Linked DNA regions of Homo sapiens: regions 2 and 3 are each linked to region 1. Evidence: promoter capture Hi-C in 16 types of primary human blood cells and fetal thymus (Javierre and others, 2016). All regions are on one chromosome and are shown on one strand. Each heading gives the region's core, a stretch centred on a gene start or on the middle of the fragment in contact. The rest is flanking DNA. Distances are from core to core; before and after follow the strand shown. Region 1 holds the start of BHLHE41 (basic helix-loop-helix family member e41). Region 2 holds the start of MRPS35 (mitochondrial ribosomal protein S35). Region 3 holds the start of BMAL2 (basic helix-loop-helix ARNT like 2).

Region 1 (2,757 bases), core at 87-2,586:
AACCTTGGTTTTTTTCTCTATGTCTTTATGTATATCTAGAGAAATATATATATAGCCTCCATCCCACCCCTGGGAGTCCCTCAGGACATGCCTTCCCCTGGGCTGGCAGGGCGGCGTGGGCAGTGCGCATCCCCGGGCACCTCCCGGTAACTCTCACTAGCAGTGAGTCATGCTCCCAGGGTGGCTCTGGGGAAAGGTAACCCGGCTCTTGCTGGCCTGTGATTCCCGGCGCCGAGCGCCGCGGCTGCAGGGCGAGCGCGCGCGCGCACGGGTTCCCCGAGCAGTGATGTGGCAGCAGCGGCAGGTCGGATCACGTTGCTGGCCCTGTGCTGGTACCCGTTTGAGACCGGATTAAGGAGGGAGGCTTTGGAGGTGCCAGCGGTAGTAAACGTGGGCTCTGCACACTCCGGGCGTCTCTTATCGCGCGGGGGGGCGGGGGGATGGGGAAAGCACGTAGCGTCACCGGAGGCTCAGAACGCGGCAGAGTTGAGCGGGCGGGTGATAAATGCTGCATAGCTTTTCTGTGGTAGCCCCTCTCGTGCCACCCCCTCTCGTGCCACCCCCTTCTCCCTTCCCAGCCCCCACTCAACCCCGGCTCGCTCCCCGCCGCGTTCCTCCAGGAGCACACGCGGCCCCAAACGTCGTCATCTGCTGCTGTGATTAGTGGCACCGCAATTCCGGCTGCTGCGGGGAAGTTTAGTTGGCCCAGGGACGCCGTGTCACCGAAAGACACTTGGATTGCGACATTCGGACCCAGTGACAACGTTTTCATGTATCTTAAATCCTTCAAGGAGCGGATTGCAAGTTGCTTCTTCTCGAGGCAACCTCTCCACCCAGCGCCAAGGAGTCCCTCCAGGCCACTGATCAGTGAGCAAACAAGTCTCCAAAATTTCCTTTGGGACTCAAGTTTACCCACCGCGAATTCTCTTTTCACTTCCTTTCTATGGTTCAAACCAACAGCACAATCGGTGGAAAAGCAAAAAGCCACGTTCACATTCCTGCACCGTAACAACGGACGAACCCAGGGAGTCGCATTTTGGAGCCAAGGAAGCTCAGGCTGCCCCGCACCCCTGCACCCCCACTCCCCCCTCCTCCTGCCGACTGCATCGCCTTTGGGAAGATGAATAGCTTGGCCGAAGTTGTTTTTCCTTTCCGGTGGCCCTGATCAGGTGTCCCCGCCCCCTCCTGCCGTTCGCCTTCTCTCGCCGCCTTCTCCCGACGCCCCCGCCCGGCCCGGCCCCTCCTCCCCCGCCCCCCTCCGGGCTGGACCGCGGATGGTACGTTCCGCACGTGAGCTGGGTGCTGGTCTGGCCGGCGACGCGCGTGCCCTGTGGCCAAACACTGCCTGGAGTGAGAGCAAACTACCAGCGCAGTGGGGCCGGCGCGAGTGTGCGTGTGTGTGCGTGTGTGTGTGCGAGCGCGGTGGAGGGGGGGGACCAACTGCTTCACACTTTCAACACTGCACTGAAGAGGGAGAGCGAGAGAGAGACTGGAGACGCACAGATCCCCCCAAGGTCTCCCAAGCCTACCGTCCCACAGATTATTGTACAGAGCCCCAAAAATCGAAACAGAGGAAACGAACAGCAGTTGAACATGGACGAAGGAATTCCTCATTTGCAAGAGAGACAGTTACTGGAACATAGAGATTTTATAGGGTAAGGTGCACGCACCCTTGCGAATATCTGTCTAGGCTTTGGTTTGATTTTTTTCTTCTCCAGAAAGTGGTATGGAGCTGGCGAGGGCAGAGCCCCTCCCCGAATGGGTGCCTGATGCTGATTTCTGTTTTGCAGACTGGACTATTCCTCTTTGTATATGTGTAAACCCAAAAGGAGCATGAAACGAGACGACACCAAGGTAAGTGTAAGTTCCCGATATTCCTCATAACCTGCATGGGTAGTTAATTAGAGCCATTGATTTCACAGTGAAGCTCTGCCCGCAAATATATTCCAGCCCCTGAGCTTCCCCAACTGTGAATTTTAAGTGGCTTGCTGGGTACTCTCAGGGGGATATTAAACATCATACCTGAATTTAAATTGCATTGCAGAACAGTCCAGAGGAAAGAGGTTTCTTGGGTGTAGTTTATCACATAGTATGTTTTATGGTGGGGGGGCGGGGGGGGCAGACGAGGGTAATATCCAATAAGTGAATGTTTCGCTTACTGTTTTCTCTTTTCCATGACTCTCATATATTAAGGATACCTACAAATTACCGCACAGATTAATAGAAAAGAAAAGAAGAGACCGAATTAATGAATGCATTGCTCAGCTGAAAGATTTACTGCCTGAACATCTGAAATTGACAGTAAGATGCACATTTTCATTCTTTGCTGCTCTCCAAGGGCGTGTTAATAGTCTGGTGCGACTCCCAGAAAATATAAGAATAAATGTAAATATAAGTTCCTGACTTAAAACTTGTGCTATACCGTACAGAGTTTCCCGCAAACTGGAGTAGGTGCTCCCAGCTGAAGGCAAGAAATCATTTATAACCTGTCTTGTGGAAAGCTCAAGAAGTAAAAGAACAGTACTTCTTTCAAAGTGTTTGCTTAAATTGCTGTGCTGAATGGACAGCCAATTAAGCCAAATGTGTGTTTTTAAGTAACCAAGTGCCCGTTTCTTTTTTGCACCACTGCAGACTCTGGGACATCTGGAGAAAGCTGTAGTCTTGGAATTAACTTTGAAACACTTAAAAGCTTTAACCGCCTTAACCGAGCAACAGCATCAGAAGATAATTGCTTTACAGAATGGTAAGTCAGTTCAG
Region 2 (2,757 bases), core at 129-2,628, 1.6 Mb before region 1:
TCTCAACTTTTGGCCTTTGCACTTATAGTTCCCCATACCCCAAAGGCTCTTTCCCCATATCTCTGCATGGCTTGGGGCCCTGTTCAAATGTCACTTCCTCAGAAAGATCTTTCCTGACCATCCTGTGGCCACTACTCCCCCCAAATCCATCATTCTCAATACTCTACTTTATTTTTCTTCAAAGCATTAAACCCTATCTGACATCTTATTTAGTTGTTTGGTTGTTTATACTATTGACTTCCCCACCTTGCCGTATCTCCGGTGAGTGTCTAGAACACTGCATGGTATACAATAGGAGTTAAGTATTCCAAGAATTTAAGAATGAAAATTTAAAAATAGACAATTATTAGACCTATGAAGAGCCAGTATGAAGGATTAATGTATTTATAGTTTATCTGAAAACAATGGGAAACCATTTGTAGATCTTGAACATGAGAGCAGCAAGACAAGATCTAAATTTTGAAAACCTCATTTGGCTGTTTTGAGAATTCAATGTAGGAGAGCAAGAGGGGAAACAGGAAACGGAAAAAAAACTTGTAGAAATGAGATGGTCACCTGAACTAGATAGTTGGTAGTATGAGGAGAGTAAATTAGAGATATAACAGGAAGTAGCACAGGTAGGATCCGCCTATTGATTAGACTCACGCCAGCTCCTCCTCAACGCTCCCGTCATTCTAGCCACACTTCTATCACAGCGCCTCTCACCCTACATAGCACTTCTCCGCTAATAAATCTGTATTTTCCACTAGAGTCCTCCGGGGTAAGCACGCTATCAAGCATCCCTACAATCTCTGTTAAATGGAGGTCATCAACGCCTGTTGAATGAAGGCCGCCCATTTGGTGGCCTGGAATTCAGAGCAGCAATTTGTCCTAGCACAGCCGTATGACTCTCTTAATGTTTGGGGAAATCCATGGTTCAACAGCGCCGATGCCCGATAAACAACACAGCACCAGTAACCTGTGCCAGGGGCTGTGGACGGGGGCAACACAGGAGCAGGTCACGGGGAAGGGGGATGTAAGCTTTCTGAGCAAACTCCCAGAGCACCCAGGGCAGAAACAGGCGGCTAGAAGCCGGGCAACGCGGGTGCAGAGCACAGACCCACGTCCATGGTTTTCCTACCAGACGGGCCTGGCAGCGGACGCACTGGCCTCCCCCGGGCGGCGCTGGCTCAGCCACCGCGGCACCCTTCATGAGGCCGGTATTCCGCTCTTGCACCTCCCCCAAAGCCCAGAGAAGACGAGACAGACACTCACGCAGGCTAGGTGTCGGGACCGGAGTGGCCGAGTAGACGGCAGTGGAGAATGCACGCAGAGTCCTTGCCCTCGACTGCAGAGACAGCCATGCTGGGAGCGCGGCGGCCGCCATGGCTGCGAGGACGGCAAGCCGGAGGGGACAAGCGGCGTTCAGTGTCAGGGGCGGGCCTGGGGCCGCTAAGCGCAGGCTCCCTGGGCTGGCACCGCCCTAGGCTGGAGAAAGAGGAAACACGTTGGTCTGCGCACTCAGAGCCGAGTCAAATGTGCAGGAAGATTCCCCCAAACTGAAAGAAGTAATGAAAAGAAAACAAAAAAAATCCTTAAAAATCGAGTGAATCAGTTCGTAGAGAATTGCAGATAAAGACCGTAGGGATAGGGGTTGCGGCTCACTGAAGGCGGGCGTGCTCTGGGTGGAACCTCAGTTGATCCGAGAGTCAGGCGGTCTACCCGAGGGACTCTTGTTATTTATAATTGTTGCTTTTCTACATTTACTTGGATTAAAGAAGTCTTCAACTAATGCCAGTAATATGCGCTAAGGGGAGAGAAGCAGTATCCCGAGCCAGAGTGCTTGGGTTTCAAACTTGACTTCACCACTTCTGGGATGTATGATCTCAGACAAGTTAGCATAGACAAATATTTGTGTACAGCGTTGGCATACAGTGAACACCGCGTGTACGTAGCCTATAACTTTTAGCTATATATGGTTAGCTTGTTGTTAGATCAGCTTAGAATTACAGAAAGTCAGAACTCATCAGGACCTAGAAAATAAACTTTTAATGAACACTCTTAAATTTTCTACGGTAGGATGAATTAACATACAAGCCTTAATAAAACAATTCTCGGCCGGACGCGGTGGCTCGCGCCTGTAATCCCAGCACTTTGGGATCCCGAGGCGGGTGGATCACCTGAGGTCAGGAGTTTGGGACCAGCCTGACCAACATGGAGAAACCTGGTCTCTACTAAAAATACAAAATTAGCCGGGTGTGGTGGCACATGCCTGTAATCCCAGCTACTCGAGAGAAGAATCGCATGAACCCGGGAGGCAGAGGTTGCGATGAGCCGAGATCGCGCCATTGCACTCCAGCCTGGGCAATAAAAGCAAAACTCCGCCTCAAAAATAAAATAAAATAAAATAAATTCTCTATTTTCTCTTTATTTTAAAAATTATTTTAATTAATTAATTAATTATTATTATTTTTGAGACAGAGTCTTGCTCTGTTGCTAGGCTGGAATGTGGTAGCAGGACCATGGCCCACTGCAGCCTTGACCTCCCAGGCTCAAGTGATCCTCCTACCTCAGCCTTTCAAGTAGCTGAGGCTACAGGCACGCACCACCACACCCAGCTAATTAAAAAAAAAATTGTTTTTCCAGAGATGAGGTCTCACAGTGTTGCCAGGGCTGGTCTCAAACTCTTGGGTTCAAGCGATCCTCCTGCCTTGGCCTCCCAAAAAAGTGATAGGACTACAGGCGTGAGCTACTGCACCTGGCCTATTTTTTCTATTT
Region 3 (2,757 bases), core at 111-2,610, 1.2 Mb before region 1:
TATTTTCAACAAAGGGTTTACCTAAGACTACGAATATTCAAATGATCGAATTTCTGAAATCGCCCCATGATGTAAATTCCCACAATTATATTAGAATTTCGAAAGCCACCTCCTCTCATTGCCTTATTTCAGAGAAGAATCTAAAACTCTATCATCTTATTCCAAAAGGAAAGGGGAGAATTAACTGCTTCCCTGAACTTCTCTGCCAGTCTTCCTTCAGTTATTTCTGTTTTCCTGCCTCTCATTTGTCTTAAACAACAGCTATTTTGTATTCATTCCGTAATTGTGAGCAGTGGTCCCAAAGGCCCCGTTGTAAGGAACTACAGAATACTGCCAGTGAATACTAGCGAGAAGGAAAAAGCACCGCAAACTTCCAACTCCATTCACAAAAATACCACAGAAATACATAATCGAACAAGCTAACTCCACTGACGGCTTTCCTGAAGCTTCAGCGGTGAAAGACACGAGCCGCCTGTCGCTTATGGAGGGCTGTCGCGGAGCGGGCTGCGATCCCGGAGTGTGGCCCCGCGTCCACGCGCACCTGCCCACCTGCGCGCTCCACCGCGGGGCAGCGGTTCAAGCCGGGAAGCCGCGAGTATTATCAGCTCAGAGGGGAGGGGTTCACAGGAACCGGGCTAGGTCCGAGGCTGCTGACAACTGGTTTACACAAAAGAAAGAAGAAATATAGGAAGTCCCCGCAGCAGTGCATGCCATGCCGACGCCGACGCGGGCGCCCAGCAGTGGGTGGAGGCGGATGCTCCCAGCGCCGGGTGCAAGGTCCCCCGCTGGCTCCCTTTCGCCAATGCGCCCGGCCCGGGACCAAGACACCGCGTCCTGAGCGCCGGCGGCGACCCCAGCTCCCCTCCCCGCGTCCCGCTCCCCGGGAGGACGCGCCGGGCGCCGCGCCGCACCTGTGCCCCACGGGGCGGCCTTGTCCCACCGCCCCTCGGAGGCGATGCTCCGGCCCGAGAGGACAGGCGCGGGCGCTTCCCTCGGGGCAGCGGGGGCAGACCTGGCGTCGCGGGGACGCCCCCAGCGCGTCAGACGCCGCGCGCCCACCTGGGGCCGTCGCCTCGCCACCGGCAACCTCACCTCCCGCCGCAGCCTCCTCTTCCGCCGCCATCGCAGGAGCCACTTGGTCGGCTCCGCAGCCCCGCGGCTGGCAGCATGGAGGAGCCCCGGGCCCGCCCTGCCCCGGCCCAGGCGGCGGCTCTGGAGCAGGGAAGCGGGGACTGGCGGGCCCTGCCGGGTGCCGCGGCGGCCGCCACCGCAGCCCGTAGGCGCGCACGGGACGCCGCCCCGCAGCCCGGCCGGCAGCAGCTACTGAGCATGCGGACTGGAGCCAGCCGCCCGCCGCTCTGGGCGCCGCGGGGCTTCCCGGCGGGAAAGAGACCCGGGCCAAGGGCGGAGTCGCTGCGGACACCGCCCCGCCGAGCCCTCCCGCGAGCAGCAAAGCACTAAAAGGCCAGTTGAGTCCTTCTAGCAACCACCCTATTGAAAACAGGCTTCCATGCTCATAGTAAGCTTTGTCCCAGCATTCCGAAGATTGCAGTTGTTAGACCCTCGGGGCAAAGGTAAAGGATGAATGAAGATAATTGCACGGTGGGTTAGCGGAGGGCACGGGGCTAGGGTTGGGGAGGAGGGTGCTGGACGAGAGACCCTGCTCTTTTCTGCTTAAGGAAGGGCTTAGCTGCAGAGACGAGAGTGTAGATGACAGAGAGAGGGTCCCGAGGAAGCCGTTTTGCCTCCTGGAACGGTTGGGTAAATCCAGAAACAAGATCTTTTGGGCATCACTTGACAGCCCTACATCCTATGGCCACGTGTCTAGAATACACTGGTTTGCTGCCCTCCCACTGGTCCCTAGACCCATTCCTTGGTAATCTAGTAGAAGTAAGTAAAGGAAAGTCACAGTAGAGAAGACACCAAATCAAACTTTGCAACCAGCCTAAAGGTAATAACTTTCCTACAAGGACTCAATTCCAACGTCTTAACCAGCACCTTATGTGTCCTCAGGGCAGTACTTAGGGCCATTGTGAGAGGCTGGGCAGAGGGTTTGGAAGTGTGTTCCCAAGCAGAAGTGGGCATGACAGGAGAAAACTGTTGCAGGCTTAAGCAGGGGCTAGGACTTTAGAGGTAAGGGAGACGTGCTGAAAACTGTGCTGTCCTCAACACACACCAAGACACATCCCTAATCAAAACCAGTCTTGAAACGTCTCATTCCTAGCTTTGACTTGGAACTCCACCCCAAATTCTACCAACACCAACTTCTCCTGGCAGCTAGAAACAGTAATTCCATACAGGGTTTCCCGAATGTGATCAAACCTTGGCTTTCCAGACAAGTGTACACTATTTTGAGGTGGTTTACCAAGGGGTAACAGGTAGAATTAATTAGACCTGGGCTTTAAGATCTGGGTTAAAATGTAAATACTATTCTATACATGGCCTTGCTTACAATGCATTTTCCCCCTTATCGGCTCAGTGAGCCTCACAACCTCTTTCTTAATTCCTGTCTTAGTAGAGAAACAGAAGTTCAGAGATGTCGAGTATTTTGGCCAGGATCACTCAGCTAGTAGATAGTAGAAGCAAGACCATAAAAGTTAGGTCTCCTTCTTAGGAGTTCCTATTGTGGTGTCCAGTAAGCTTGCCTGTGAATCATTGCAGTCCCCGTTTCTTAGAAACGATGATTCACTTCCACCAAAGCCTGAAAGCAAGAGAAGGGGAATCCAGAATCTAAAATACGAAAGCAGGAAGGGTAAT

The links. The method cuts DNA at HindIII sites, captures the fragments that hold promoters and counts their contacts. A CHiCAGO score of 5 or more calls a contact.
Region 2: the fragment with the promoter of MRPS35 here is called in contact with the fragment with the promoter of BHLHE41 in region 1 in 2 of 17 cell types (fetal thymus and non-activated CD4 T cells); the score reaches 6.7 in fetal thymus.
Region 3: the fragment with the promoter of BMAL2 here is called in contact with the fragment with the promoter of BHLHE41 in region 1 in 1 of 17 cell types (fetal thymus); the score reaches 9.2 in fetal thymus.

Annotation. Positions count from the first base shown.
Region 1 is chr12:26,123,616-26,126,372 of GRCh38, reverse strand. BHLHE41 (basic helix-loop-helix family member e41) reads left to right here and starts at 1,336. Exons shown (of 5, transcript NM_030762.3): 1 at 1,336-1,655; 2 at 1,791-1,854; 3 at 2,194-2,301; 4 at 2,632-2,743. The coding sequence starts at 1,594. It also overlaps a transcript of SSPN not described here. The HindIII fragment of the contact is 3,679 bases long and covers 1-2,691 here.
Region 2 is chr12:27,709,453-27,712,209 of GRCh38, reverse strand. It overlaps MRPS35 (mitochondrial ribosomal protein S35), which reads right to left and starts at 1,378. Exons shown (of 8, transcript NM_021821.4): 1 at 1,255-1,378. The coding sequence starts at 1,366. It overlaps MRPS35-DT (MRPS35 divergent transcript), which reads left to right and starts at 1,463. Exons shown (of 5, transcript XR_001749448.2): 1 at 1,463-1,547. RefSeq lists enhancers at 958-1,747, 1,758-1,837, 1,868-1,947. The HindIII fragment of the contact is 2,856 bases long and covers 1,023-2,757 here.
Region 3 is chr12:27,331,439-27,334,195 of GRCh38, reverse strand. It overlaps BMAL2 (basic helix-loop-helix ARNT like 2), which reads right to left and starts at 1,360. Exons shown (of 17, transcript NM_020183.6): 1 at 1,093-1,360. The coding sequence starts at 1,123. It overlaps LOC124902906 (a long non-coding RNA gene), which reads left to right and starts at 1,399. Exons shown (of 2, transcript XR_007063255.1): 1 at 1,399-1,574. RefSeq lists silencers at 867-986, 1,007-1,476. The HindIII fragment of the contact is 1,078 bases long and covers 449-1,526 here.